2 separate regions of the Homo sapiens genome follow, and region 1 is linked to region 2. The links are contacts of gene promoters, found by promoter capture Hi-C in blood cells and fetal thymus (Javierre and others, 2016). All regions are on one chromosome and are shown on one strand. The core of a region is centred on a gene start or on the middle of the fragment in contact, and the rest is flanking DNA. Distances in the headings are between cores, read along the strand shown.

Region 1 (7,081 bases), core at 898-3,397, 560 kb after region 2:
ATTTGAAGATAAACCAGCATTAAGTAAAACTGAAGATAGAAAAGAGTACAACATTGGTGTCCTAAGACACCTTCAGGTCATCTTTGGTCATTTAGCTGCTTCTCGACTGCAATACTATGTGCCCAGAGGATTTTGGAAACAGTTCAGGTAAACTATGGATGGACAGTAATAGAGATACTTCTTAAAATGAACATCTCAATACACTAACATTAAACCTCTAAAAGACATGTTGGAAGGCATCTTTTTTTAAGCACTGGTAATATTCAAACTGTCCTTAATTGGGTGGGTTTTTTTTTTTTTTTTTAGGTCCCCTTAGGAAGAAGTAGAAACTGCCATAGTAAGTAAGGGCAACATCCTTTAGTCTCTTAACCATATTATTAACTTTTTATTAGGAAAACATCTAATAAATACAGAAGTAGAAAAAATAGTATGAACCCCTGTATACTTGTCACCCAACTTCAGTAGTAGTCAACTTGTGGCCAGCCTCATTTAATCTATATTCTTAACCTATTTTTTTTTTCTTTTTTTCTTTTTCTTTTTCTTTTTTTCTTTTTTTTTTTTGAGATGGAGTTTTGCTCTTGTTGCCCAGGCTGGAGTGCAGTGGTGTGATCTTGGCTCACTGCAACATCCGCCTCCCAGATTCAAGTGATTCTCCTGCCTCAGCCTCCCAAGTAGCTGGGATTACAGGCACCCACCACCACGCCTAGCTGATTTTTTGTATTTTTAGTGGAGACGGGGTTTTACCATGTTGGCCCAGACTGGTCTCGAACTCCTGACCTCAGGTGATTCCCATCTCAGCCTCCCAAAGTGCTGGGATTACAGGCGTGAGCCACTGTGCCCGGCCCCTACCTATTTCTTTCTAGATTGTTTTGAAGCAAATCTTAGTTCCATCTGTAAATACTTAAGTATGTGTCTGTAGTGTCTGTCTCAAAACATGATCATGATACCATTATGTTTTTTTAAAATTGCTTAATATCAAATATCTCTGTCAGTGTTTGAATTTACCGAGTTATCTCATAACTGGTTTTTACTGATATTTTTTAAAAATAAGATTCAGTTGAGGTCCATTTACCACAAATGGTTGGTAATGATCTTGATTATTCATCTGTTTCTTTTTTCCCTTTACAATTATGGGGGAATCGGAGGACAAATAGTTTAGCATGTAAATTTTCCCACAGTCTGAATTTTGTTGATGGAATCCCTGTGGTCGTTTATTATTTTCTGTTTTTCTTGGTCACCTGCATCTTCTATAAACACCTTATGAGATCTAGAGGCTTGATCAGATTGTGGTATTATTTTTCTTTTTGTGGAATGGATAGGCAACGCTACTTCATAGGGGATAATGTTTATCTCCATGAGGAGTGACATTATAATGTCTGTCTTCTTATGATGTTAACAGCAATTTTTTATTATTATTATTATATATATACAATTTTTTTTTTTCCCCTGAGATGGAGTCTTTGCTCTGTCGCCCAGGCTAGAGTACAGTGGCGTGATCTCAGCTCACTGCAACCTCCGCCTCCTGGGTTCAAGCAATTCTGCCTCAGCCTCCTGAGTAGCTAGGGTTAACAGGGGTTACAGGCGTGGGCCAACCATGCCCGGCCAAGTTTTGTATTTTTAGTAGAGACGGGGTTTCACCATGTTGGCCAGTCTGGTCTCGAACTCCTGACCTCAGGTGATCTGCCTGCCTCCCAAAGTGCTGGATTATAGGCATGAGCTACTGCTCCCTGGCCTTTTTTTTTTTTTTTTTTTTTTTTTTGGAGATAGAGTCTTGCTCTGTTGCCCAGGCTGAAGTGCAATGGCTCGATCTCAGCTCACTGCAACCTCTGCCTCCCAGGTTCAAGCAATTCTTCAGCCTCAGCCTCTCAAGTAGCTAGGACGACAGGCCCACCACACCCCGCTAATTTTTTGTAGTTTTAGTAGAGATAGGGTTTCGCCGTGTTGGCCAGGCTGGTCTCAAATTCCTGACGTCAGGTGATCCACCCGCCTCGGCCTCCCAAAGTGCTGGGATTACAGGCGTGAGCCACTGCACCTGGCCAATTATCATTATCTTAATACAGTATTTCTTCAGGGTTATAAAATAACAATATTTTATTTTTTCATTTAATAGCTAGAAAAGATCTATAAAGGGAAAATTGCCCTCACCATTTTCTTTTTAAGTTAGAAAACTCAGATTACATTTTTATCTTGTTTCCTTTGACTTTAAGTCAGTACTACGTCATGCACTGTGCTAAAATAACTACAGTACAACCACGTAACTCTTACTGTGTATGAAAAGGGGTATAATTCTTTATAGCAGTGAGGTTTGGTTTGTTTTGTTTTGTAAGTAATCCTCCTTGGAATCCCTTCAAGGTGCTTCCCGGCCAGCTGAGAGGAGCGGGGAACGAAGGGTCACCTGATACTCTGATCCGCCTTCCCTTCTTCTGACAAAGCAGTATAAATTTCTTTTCCTCCCCTAACTAGGCCCTCTACTTACTCTGTACTAGTGTCTTGCGTGGACCACCCTCCCTCCCATCTCTCATTTTGCTTTTAGTCCCGTCACCCAGCATACCATTCTCCCTCCTCTCTGACTATTTCAGTTCTGTCTTCTTTCCCTAGGTTATTCCAATTCCATCTCTGCCTTAAGGCTATTTTAGCATTTCTGTTTATGCTCTTCCAAACTGAAGAACACAAACAGAGGCTTATACTGGGTTTTTTTTTTTTTTGAGACAGAGTCTCACTCTGTGGCCCAGGCTAGAGTGCAGTGGTGTGATCTCGGCTCACGGTAACCTCTGCCCGCTGGGTTCAAGCAATTCTCCTGTCTTGGTAGCTGGGATTACAGGCGCCTGCCACCATGCCCAGCTAATTTTTGTATTTTTAGTAGAGACTGGGTTTCACCATATTCATCAGGCTGGTCTTGAACTCCTGACTTCAGGTGATCCACCCGCCTCAGCCTCCCAAAGTGCTGGGATTACAGGCGAGAGCCACTGCGCCCAGCTGAGGCTTACACTTTTTAAACTTTCGTCTTGTCATTCAGTTACAATTTTTTCTCTTGTAATGCCTTTGCTTTTTTGACTTTTCAGTTACTCGCTGTGCTAGTGGAGCTCGGTTTGTATAGACTAGCACTTTGGATTATCCACACTTTAGACACATAATCTACTCTTGACACAAGCGGGTTAGTTAACTACACTTCCTCACCCCACTCTTTTATTTTGAAAAGTTTCAAACCTACAGAAAAGATGAAGAAGAGGTATAATTATCACCTTTATGTTATATTCTTTATGCGGTTTTACTAATTAACATTTTGCCATATTTGCTTATCTTGCCATATGTGTGCTTGGTTTTTGGTTTATTTTTTTTTTAAGTTTTGTTTGTTTGTTTGTTTGTTTTTTGTTTTTTTGAGATGGAGTCTCGCTCTGTCGCCCAGGCTGGAGTGCAGTGGCGTGATCTCGGCTCACTGCAAGCTCCCCTTCCTGGGTTCACACCATTCTCCTGCCTCAGCCTCCCGAGTAGCTGGGACTACAGGCGCCTGCCACCAATGCCCAGCTAATTTTTTGTATTTTTAGTAGAGACAGAGTTTCATTGTGTTAGCCAGGGTGGTCTCGAACTCCTGACCTCGTGATCCACCCGGCTCGGCCTCCCAAAATGCTAGGATTACAGGCGTGAGCCACCGCGCCCGGCCTTTTTTCTTAAGTTGATAGTGAAGTTGCAAACAGGACGCTTCACCCCTTCATACTTCAACATATATCTTATAAGAGATCATATATCAGAATAAGGCAATTTTCCTACTTATGTATGATACAGTTATATCCAAGTAATATAATAACGATTTTTAATCTCTAATATTCATCAGTATATATTCCGATTTCCCAAAAGTGGTCTTTATAACTTATCTCTCTATCCCAATCTGATACTCATGAAGGAATCACAAGGATTTGGCTGTTAGCTCTTTAGTTGCCTTTTATGTAAAATAATCTCCCTAACTTGTGACTTGTATCGCACTGAAATTTTTAAAGAATCCAGGCCAGTTGTCTTGCAGAATGTGTTTTTTGATTTGTGTGATTGTTTCCTGATGATTAGCTTTATGTTAAATGTTGAGGGGGTGGGGGCAATAAAACTACATAATTGATGTTTTGTGTTTCTCACTGCACTGTATTGGGAGGCATGTGTTATCCACTTAATTATTAAGTGATATTAATTTTGATTTCTTGGTGTCTTAACAGATCTCTCCTTTATAAAGGGTACCTTTTCCCTTTTGAAATTAGTTGATTACATGTTTGAAAGTTTGAGGAGTTGAATATGGTTTGAAAGTAAATAGAACGGACTGGTGTAATTTCCAGTAATGAAACAAGCTGATTTTTAACAAATAATATATTTGATTTTAAACTTACTGTATACAAATTTTTACTTGTGTAAAATATAATAGAGATCAGATTATTTGCTATGTAGAAAAGGTTTTTACAAAAGTATAAACAGACAGTTCTTGCATACTTTAAAATGTCATTTCTTGCTTAGAACAAATACACTTAAATTCTCTATATACATTATTCTGTATATACAAAATCAGGTATTATTGATAGTTTCCAGCAGTGCCTGAGTTTTAGCAGTATGAGTTCTCATTTTTGTGGTATGTAGTGATGGTGTCTTTTCTTAGATTACTCAAGAGATTAACTCTAGAACAAGTTAAACCTTTCTCTCTTCACTTGGGAAAAAAATAAATTTAAGAGTAACTAGATCTGATCTTTTTACTATTTATAATCCAAAATTTAAGCAAAATGAAAGAAATAAAATAGTGATTGTAACATCCACATAAGAGTGAGATCCACCACCTCATCTTAATAGTATCTTTAATTGGATTCAAAATGCATGCATGTGTCATACCACCTGAAGCAACCATCCTTCCTGGAGCCGTACTATCCATCAATTACACCACTAGTTTTGTGGCAGTTCTTTGCCGCTAGAGTACTAGTTTTACTATGAGGCTCACTCTCTTACCCCACTACATTCTACAGGGAAAGCACATTCTTTTTTTCCTACTTTTTCCATGTAATTGAGGAATAAAATCTCGGTTTTATATACTGTTGTTTGTGGTCTTGTTGCTTTTTTTTCCCCTGAAAAATATAGTTGTACATATTGTTCTGTGAATGTTACATGTTACATGTTTTATTTCATTCATTTCTTAGGCTTTGGGGTGAGCCTGTTAATCTGCGTGAACAACACGATGCTTTAGAATTTTTTAATTCATTGGTGGATAGTTTAGATGAAGCTTTAAAAGCTTTAGGACATCCAGCTATGCTAAGTAAAGTCTTAGGAGGTTCCTTTGCTGATCAGAAGATCTGCCAAGGCTGCCCACATAGGTAAGTACTAATTACACATTGAAAGTATATGTTGTACCATGTATATACTAACAGAAATAAAATTTTTACTAGTACTTACATACAAAAGTGGAGTATATCACTGATTACTAAATACCTGAAACAGAATGATTTATATACTTTGCATACCTTACTGCTGTGGGGCTTTTTTTTGTTTTTGTCAGTTAACTTTTAGTTCCTTCTACTCTGCCTGATCTCTTAGCCATTTTATTATATTATACTCTTACAGTCTCTTTCTTCCTTTCCTTTCCTTTCCTTTCTCCTTTTTCTTTTCCTTTCTCTTTTTTTTTCTTTCTTTCTTTTTTGAAAGAGACAAGGTTTCTCTTTGTTGCCTAGGCTGGAGTTCAGTGGCATGGTCGTAACTCATAGTAACTTTGAACTTGTGGGCTCAAGCAATCCTGCTGCCTCAGCCTCTCAAATAGCTGGGACTACAGGCATGTGCCACCACACCTGGCTAATTTGTAAATTTTTTTAGAGATCGAATCTCTTGTTGCCCAAGCTGGTCTCAAAACTGCTGACCTCAAAATCAGTCGTCACACCTCAACTTCCCAAAGTGTTGAGATGACAGGCGTGAGCCACTGCGCCTGGCCTACTCTTACATTCTTTTACAGAAGATTATTCCTGAGGAAATAAAATGGCATTTTGCATATAGCTACAGGTGTTATTTATAAATTTGCCCTTTATCTTAGAACTTGAGTGATTATAATAGTGTAAATACAGTAAGTTTAGAAGATGACAAAGCTATGGTAGTATTTCCTATACAAATGAAATAATGACTTTTAAAATAGCATTGATTATTGTCATTATCTTTAAGGTATATTTGTATACAAAACATATCAAACCTATTGTAAAAAAAGATTTTACCCCCGTCCGGGAGGTGAGGGGTGCCTCTGCCCGGCTGCCCCTACTGGGAAGTGAGGAGCCCCTCTGCCCGGCCAGCCGCCCCGTCCGGGAAGGAGGTGATGGGGTCAGCCCCCCACCCGGCCAGCCGCCCCGTCCGGGAGGGAGGTAGGGGGGTCAGCCCCCCGCCCAGCCAGCTGCCCCATCCGGGAGGTGAGGGGTGCCTCTGCCCGGCCGCCCCTACTGGGAAGTGAGGAGCCCCTCTGCCCGGACAGCCGCCCCGTCCGGGAGGGAGGTGGGGGGGTCAGCCCCCCGCCCGGCCAGCCGCCCCATCCGGGAGGTGAGGGGTGCCTCTGCCCGGCCGCCCCTACTGGGAAGTGAGGAGCCCCTCTGCCCGGCCACCACCCCGTCTGGGAGGTGTACTCAACAGCTCATTGAGAACAGGCCATGATGACAATGGCGGTTTTGTGGAATAGAAAGGGGGGAAAGGTGGGGAAAAGATTGAGAAATCGGATGGTTGCCGTGTCTGTGTAGAAAGAGGTAGACATGGGAGACTTTTCATTTTGTTCTGTACTAAGAAAAATTCTTCTGCCTTAGGATCCTGTTGATCTGTGACCTTACCCCCAACCCTGTGCTCTCTGAAACATGTGCTGTGTCCACTCAGGGTTGAATGGATTAAGGGTGGTGCAAGATGTGCTTTGTTAAACAGATGCTTGAAGGCAGCATGCTCGTTAAGAGTCATCGCCACTCCCTAATCTCAAGTACCCAGGGACACAAACACTGCGGAAGGCCGCAGGGTCCTCTGCCTAGGAAAACCAGAGACCTTTGTTCACTTGTTTATCTGCTGACCTTCCCTCCACTATTGTCCTATGACCCTGCCAAATCCC
Region 2 (7,508 bases), core at 521-3,020:
ATTTTTTTGTAGAGACGGGGTTTTGCCATGTTATCCAGGGTGGTCTTGAACTCCTGAGCTCAAGCCATCCTCCCACCTTGGCCTCCCAAAGTGCTGGGATTACAGGCATGAGCCACCGCGCCCGGCCCCAATTCCTTTCATTTTTTTTTTTTTTTTTTTTTTTTTTTTTTTTTTTTTTTTTTTTTGAGACGGAGTCTCGTTCTGTCGCCCAGGCGGGAGTGCAGTGGCGCGATCTCCGCTCACTGCAAGCTCCGCCTCCCGGGTTCACGCCATTCTCCTGCCTCAGCCTCCCGAGTAGCTGGGACTACAGGCGCCCGCCACTGCGCCCGGCTAATTTTTTTGTATTTTTAGTAGAGACGGGGTTTCACCGTGGTCTCGATCTCCTGACCTCATGATCCGCCCGCCTCGGCCTCCCAAAGTGCTGGGATTACAGGCGTGAGCCACTGCGCCCGGCCGTCCTTTCATTTTTGAGATTGGGGAGCACAAGCTGGCCCAGTGTCACACCACGGCAGCTGATCCAGGACTCAGATCATCTGCTTCCCAGGCACTGCTCCTTTCCAGTGCCCACCCTGTGCCTGCTGATAACTACTGGCATGTAGACTGACTGCTAAAGTCAATTTGTGTTAGGAAGCCACTTCTGGCTGTCCCTCTCCGTCCCTTACTGGGCAAAAAAATTTCCTACTCGATCTACTTAGTAAGTGACATTGCCAAGATCTGAAGACAGATCCGGCTGCCTACCCCATTCCCAGCTACCCAAAGTGCCTTTAACTGGGCACTTAAGGTGCTATTTTAGCCCTAACTTCCCTTGGCTTACTCTGTCATCCTTACGGCATCCTATAGCCAAAAAAGAGCTGATGAGCTGTTCAGCGAGCCTTACCCTCAAACAGGCCACACAAGAGTCTCCCTCCCTCCCTGCCTGTGCTCATGATGCTCGCTCTGCATCTTGCCCCAGTATCTCTTGTAGAACTCTTTCCTGTAACTTTCCAAGCAGGGGTAACAAACTCAAATGCCCTCAGGAAGCAGACGGGTAGAAGAAAGCTTCTACTTCACTAAGCTGGGTTGGGTCCCGCATACCACCCCTGAACCGCCTAGACCCTTGATCAATCTCTCTCTCTGCATCTGTTTATGAGGCCCCGGCGACCACAAGACCAGATAGCCACCCCGAGTGCTGGGTGACCCGCCGCTTCCTCCTTCCGTCCCCGCCTCAGGCGCTTACCTTGGCCACCTCCCAGGCGTCCACGGGCCAGCGGCCCGGCCGGCAGTTTCCCCAGTGCACATCTCCATTTCTGTTGACATGATGTCTCAAAATCTCCCTTTTCCATTCAGCGCACACCTGACACTGAGGCTGAAACTACAGGGGGCGGCGGTGAGGAGGGGCCCAGGAGGGAGGGACGTCGCGGTGGGCCCCGCATCGCGGAGGGAACAGGACACTTGCGCTCTGGGTCTGGGACAGGAACGGGGATGAGGAGGGGTGGGGTGGGGGCGGTGGTCAAGGCCCCGAGCCAGGTGCTCACCTGGCGGGCGCGAGGGCTGCACCGTGAGCCGCCGCGGCAGACGGCGCGGGGCCCCAGGCCGGGGGCTGCGGCGAGTAGGCCGCGGTGGAAGGAGAGCACCTCGCGGCCGACGAAACCCTGCAGGCAGCTGCGCAGCAGTAACAGGCAGTGGCCCGCCTTCACCCAGTTCTTGTACTCGGCGCAGTTGAGGCGCGCCGCTAGCTCCGACAGCACCATGTCTCCCACTTGGAACCAGGAGGTTGCGGGGCGTGGCGGACGGCAGTGCGCAGGCGCGGAGCCTGGGAAGTACCCGAGGCAGCGGCGCCTGCGCCGGCGGCAGCGACGCCTGCGCCTGCGCGGCGCGGTGCCACCGATCCCGGGGCGGGGCATCTTGACTTCCGGGGCACGTCGGCTCCACCCCACTTGGGTGACGTCTGACGTCTGACGTCTAACAACTTTGGTGCTTGGGGAAGCAGTTAACTATTTGAAACCCTTAGGCCCTCTTCGTCCCCCAAACAGAGACCCTGTCAGCATCCGATTCGACTCCCTCTCCTAATGTAGGGCACTTCTGTTTTAACTTTTTTTTATTGTCCAGATGTACAAGGTGCTCAGGGCACATTGCTTGAATCGTGTATGTTCTTTGCATTATACAATTCTAGAGTTACTGGTTCCTAAGCCCACAGACCAGCTGTAGCAAATTGAGGTATTAGTGAAACGTGACCGCTGGCTGCCTGCGGTGTGCCAAGCTAACCCAAAACTCAAAATCCCCCGCCACTGGACCACCCAGAAGGGGGCGTTTGCCTGTTTAGGGCAACACATCACTTGGATTCTAGAAGGCTGCACACCTGAGCCAGATAAGGGCATCCTGAAGCACCTAGCAAAGGTTAGACGATAATTATCTAGTATTCTTGATTATATGATAATTAGTGCTCCTTGCACATGGAAGTCTGATTTAAGTTCCAAAGAAGTGCCACAAAGGTCAGAAGGCACTGGGATTGTCAACTCCAAGTGACAAGTCAGGTCAGTTTTAGTTGTTTTTAATGAGCTTTCTGAGCTTGGAAAACATGTCAAAATTGTGTGTAGTTAAAAGCCTCTGAGGAAAGAGTCTAAACATTAAACCTTCCCGACTGTGGTTCACAGCAAAAATGTCCAGTGTTTAGGAGCACTAGCTCAGACTCAAACTGCCCCTTCTTAGCAGTTTGATCTTAAGCAACCTTAATTTGATCTCAGGCAAATTACATTTCTCTGGGCCTCCATTTACTCATTTTTAAGAAGAGGATATCAATAACCTACCACATTGGGTTGTTGTGAGGATTAAATACACATTGAAATATTAAGAAAATGCCTAGCACACAGTAAGCTCTCAGTAAATACTTGCTATTATTTTATATTGACCTAAATATGCCCTTTCATCAATCAGTTATATTCTTGGGCAAGGTATTTTAACAAATCACTGGCCACTTGGAAGTGGAGGCAACTTGCAGAAAATTGTGAGCATACCATGGAGTTCCTGGAGTTGTGCAGCACAGTGCTGGCTGGCCTCTGCTAACTTTGTCTTAATAACCTCAATGCTAAATCCATCCTAAGTAAATTTAAATCACATCCTTAGACACACTGTCCATTCTCAAACCGAATGAAAAAAAAATTCCACAAGAAACAATGAAATACACATTAACATTTTCCCTCTATGTCCCTTGAATGTAAGTTCTCTTAAAATTTTCTGTATACTGATTTTATATCAAGAACACTTGGATGATAAATAAACATTAAGGTAAAATGTAATAGGCACTTCTTTTGGGGGGAAAAACTATGAAAGGAACAACTTTTTATATTGAAATTGCATCAGAATCCAGGGTAGCAAAGTTATAACTTCTTGAAGTTATCAAATTAACCACAGTCCAAAGAATGGCTGTTAGTATCCTTTGGCTGAACAGATTACTGTGTTAATTAGAACACAGTTATTAGTGGTTCTTAAATTCAAAGTCATATAAATTTTAGTTTATGCTTGCACTTAACTCACTCAGTTAATTTTCAAACATAAGGTTCGACTCCTGTTATTAGCGACTTGACACGTTCTGCTGAAGCTCTCACTTTTCTTCTAATTCTGAAAGTACTTTTATACATTCTGAAATGGCATTTCAGCAGATGGAAAAATGAAGGTGGCAAATCAGGACCAATTTCTTATTTCAAGGTTAAATTAATACTAAACCAGACTATTAATGAAAACATCTTCATCAAAATTAACTAGAGAGTTGGTAGTTCTCTGAAACTTTGTATAAATTTTATTTATTACTGTAAATACTAAAATCACATTGAAAACACCTTAAAGTTAAGTCCCAACCCGATTATTAGAGAAAATCACTTGGGCATCCAGTCCCCTTGATCGAACCTGGGTAACAAAAGAGGCAAAAGACATGATTTGTGATGAAACTTACTATTCAAATGCTAAATGTTTTCAAGCTTTAATAAGGTATATATCAATTCCAAGTACCAAGCATAATATAAAAATTCAAATTCATGGGTTTACTCTTAATAAGCATCAAAAGCAAATTTTGCGCACTGAATCCTATCTTACTCTTGATTGGCACAATGCATTCAGAGATGAGTTATAATTAGGAAAAAAGAGTGTCCACTGAATGCATCATGTGTAAAAATGCAATTAACATTTCAAAACCACATTAAAAGGGAAAATACCTAAAAAGTTAACTCTTAATAAAATTATTTGAAACAATATTATCCTGCAGATAAAAATACATTTCTTGTATATACATGTAGATTTCTACATGAAAGAAAAGATTCAGCTCCAAATAGAAAAGGGCTGACCCTTGATAAAGACATCTTAGATTGCCAAACTGATGTGATTACCACTGTAAGAACTAAAAACAGAAGGATAAAAAGATTAAGTTAAAGGAAGGATAAAAGTTTAGTCAACTGCTCCTGAACAGTGGCAGAGTTGGGTGAGAAGTGGGAGATGAAGGCAGAAATAAGACAAAGAAGAAAGGCAAAGAAGGCTTCAACTCTGATTGAAAATGAGTGGAGAATCAAACAAAGTTGAGAACAGATATGATATAGGTACAGTGAGATACTTGAAACTAGAATTTGATAGTTGATAGTTATAGAAGCTCAATTAAATCATCTTGAAGTGGAATTAGACAAAGCATCTACATTTTAATGGAGAACCAGTATTACAGTGACCAGGTAACTCGGCATGGTATTATCACTTAAAAATTTTTCCTAAATACCATGAAGTCGGTAGAAGACCTTTGCATCAGACCATGTTCTTTGAAGCTTAAAAAAGTCCCTGACTGACTAGGAAAGACAGCACAGTGCTCCAAAAAGAAACCCTGCAGAGATGTATTAATACCAAAAACTCCATTTGACCCTGGACAGGCCCAGGATTCGGGATTCTTCACAATGAGGGGAATGGACCAGGTTTCTTCCAAGCAAAACATTCTATCGTTTTGTTGACAATGAATTAAATTGAAATTGTTTAGAACAATCCCAATTTTGGTGGGGAAGGAAAGGAGGATAAGTTAAGCAAGATAAAGAAAGCTCACAGAAACTTCATGCAGAGGTACAGCATTAAAGTTCTTTGTTTCCTAATTAATGTTGTATGCAGAAGTATTCTGTAAACTAAATTTTCCTGACAGAAAAGTTCCCACATCCTCAACAGATGAGAATGATTGCATTATTTGGGATCCTTGATCAATACGAACCACATACTGTCCCTTCTCAAAGACTAAGTTCCTTATTTTTCACCCAAATCCTATATATTGAAAGACAACCAAGGTGCTAAATGTTAACCACTAGTCAAGTTAGGAATGTCTGAAGAAAATATATTAACCTTGACATAAAGAAGATGTTTTTGGTCAAATTTCAGACATGTATTATTATAAATTAATAACTGGCTCCATCCACCAGGTTAAAGATGAAGGGAGGGCCTAAGATGTCTCTAGAGTTTATATACACACAAGTGAGTGTCACTGTTTTGTTTTGTTTTTGACCTAGTTTTATTAAATATTGCTTCCTTGGGGTGTGTTTATAACAACTCCCAGAACATTTCATGTAAGGATTCAAAGCGGTCATATTAAAATACAGCTTCAATATAAAGTTTATCACAGTTTTACAGTATTCAAAAATGACAGACCTGCCTTAAAAAACAAAACAAAAACCAAAAAAGGACTATTACACCCAAAACATAAGAAAACAATTAAATAAACAAGTTTGGCATTTTCATAACTTTATAGTATAAAACAGAATATTAAATTTATTACTGGCAAACGGACACTGATTTATTTCCTTTGAAATGTGTCCCATTTAAACACACTATACAAGTTCATTATACAAAAGATGGATGATCATTTTGATGAAAGAAGTGCACCCTGAAAATTTTTGCCAGTTTAGAATATTTAGCTCTTAAAGTTTAAAAAAAAAGTCCTTTTCCTTTTTTAAACTGAAGGCTGAATTCAGATTTTTTTTGTTGTCTCATCTGTCAGCCTTCCTGGTTTAAAAACAATAGTGTCTATGGACGCCCACCAGGGGGCAGTGTAAGATTAGCCATTAAATCACGAACAGCTGCAAATATTGTGCATTCACCTGCAACAGAGAAAAATGGTCATTAGCTATTCACAACACAGGAAAGATGTTAACACACCGGTAAGGGAAGGGGTAATTAAATCTAAAATTAGTGAGAACTTTAAAGATCAAAATAAAAGACAATTTTAACTGCCCAGATTATTGGGGATTAAGCTGTGGTGTTAAGTATCAGATTATATTTGGTTTGGATTTTTTTTCTCAGGAGGAAACTTCAAGCAAGTCCCAGTTAGGTTTGTATTTAGGAAGATATGTCTAGAGTTTCTGTTTAGAAACACTGTAGCATTAGATAAGCCTTTGAAGTTGGGCTTTAAGGCTACTGAGTGCTTATAAGGGCATTTTGGATATCATAAAAACATCTAGTTTATATTTATGCATTAGTTACAACTTTGGTGGTATCTTTCAAACGTTGCATTAAAGGCCAGATAAAAATGTTTAGGACAGCGCTGTCCAATAGAACTTTTTGTGATGATGGAAATGTTGTATAAGTGTGCCATGGCTATTAAGCACTTGTAATATAGCTAGTGTGACTGAGGAACTGAATTTAAAGTTTTATTTAATTTTCATTAACTTAAATTTAAATAGCCACATGCTGGCTAGTGGCAGTTATACTGGACAGTGCATGTCTCTGACATCTATTGGAGTTTTCTCCCAAAATTCAAGGAAATGGTCAACTTCCAGAGTTCAACATTAAAATCAATTAAATACAAAAATGATTTTCTTAAAAGCACTTCATCAGAAGAGAAGTGATGGGTGTGGGAGGTGGGGTGGGAGACTGAAGTATGGTACACCAACAATCCAAAAACAGGATTTGTGGGTGGGGAGGGTGCTGGCGATTCATCCTGTCAACTTCTCCTTTGCTCAAAGAAACCAAATACTCTGCTTCTTGTAATTATTACAAGTATTTAAATATTATAAACCAAAAGCTGGATCCCTTCCTCTACAGCATGGTCTAACACTGTATACAGTGGCTGAAAGTGGGAGAACTGAAGACCTCATGTGAACCATGGCCTTTCAGCAAAGGGCAGGATGTGCAGTGATCCTGTGCACATGAGAAGGTACAGAAAGAAAAAGGAAATCCAAAGGTCTGCCCAGTCCAAGGGGGGAAAAAAATGAAAACACTTCCAAAATATCTCAACAATTTCTGAAAAGGAGAAGTATTGTTTTTTAAAAAACACATTTTCATTATTGATAGGCAAGAAAACTTGCTTGATCCCAATAGGATCAAAACATTTTCCTTTTAATTTTAAATTCCACAAGACATAATACATAAAAACACATAAGATAATGACAGCCATCTGCTTGTGAAGGAATGGTGTTTATTATCAAGGTTCTACTGGACTGTTACTTTGAGAATTCTGATAGCTTTAAACTTTGATTCTTGAGGACCTATTTTTAGCTGAAAGAAGAGAGAAGTCAAAG

The links. Contacts are between HindIII fragments. The CHiCAGO score rates a contact against its expected background, and 5 or more counts as called.
Region 1: a fragment that was not itself captured here is called in contact with the fragment with the promoter of CXorf38 in region 2 in 6 of 17 cell types (monocytes, naive CD8 T cells, neutrophils and 3 more); the score reaches 8.0 in monocytes.

The regions. Positions count from the first base shown.
Region 1 is chrX:41,205,347-41,212,427 of GRCh38, forward strand. USP9X (ubiquitin specific peptidase 9 X-linked) reads left to right here. Exons shown (of 45, transcript NM_001039591.3): 32 at 1-147; 33 at 5,163-5,336. Among named protein-coding and RNA genes, the nearest start is that of LINC02601, 67 kb to the right of the region's middle. RefSeq lists an enhancer at 5,776-6,493. The HindIII fragment of the contact is 6,191 bases long and covers 1-5,243 here.
Region 2 is chrX:40,645,791-40,653,298 of GRCh38, forward strand. It overlaps CXorf38 (chromosome X open reading frame 38), which reads right to left and starts at 1,771. Exons shown (of 7, transcript NM_144970.3): 1 at 1,515-1,771; 2 at 1,217-1,351. The coding sequence starts at 1,730. It overlaps MED14 (mediator complex subunit 14), which reads right to left. Exons shown (of 31, transcript NM_004229.4): 31 at 2,515-6,089. The coding sequence ends at 6,016. RefSeq lists an enhancer at 952-1,151 and silencers at 1,402-1,551, 1,672-1,971, 1,807-1,987. The HindIII fragment of the contact is 2,915 bases long and covers 1,037-3,951 here.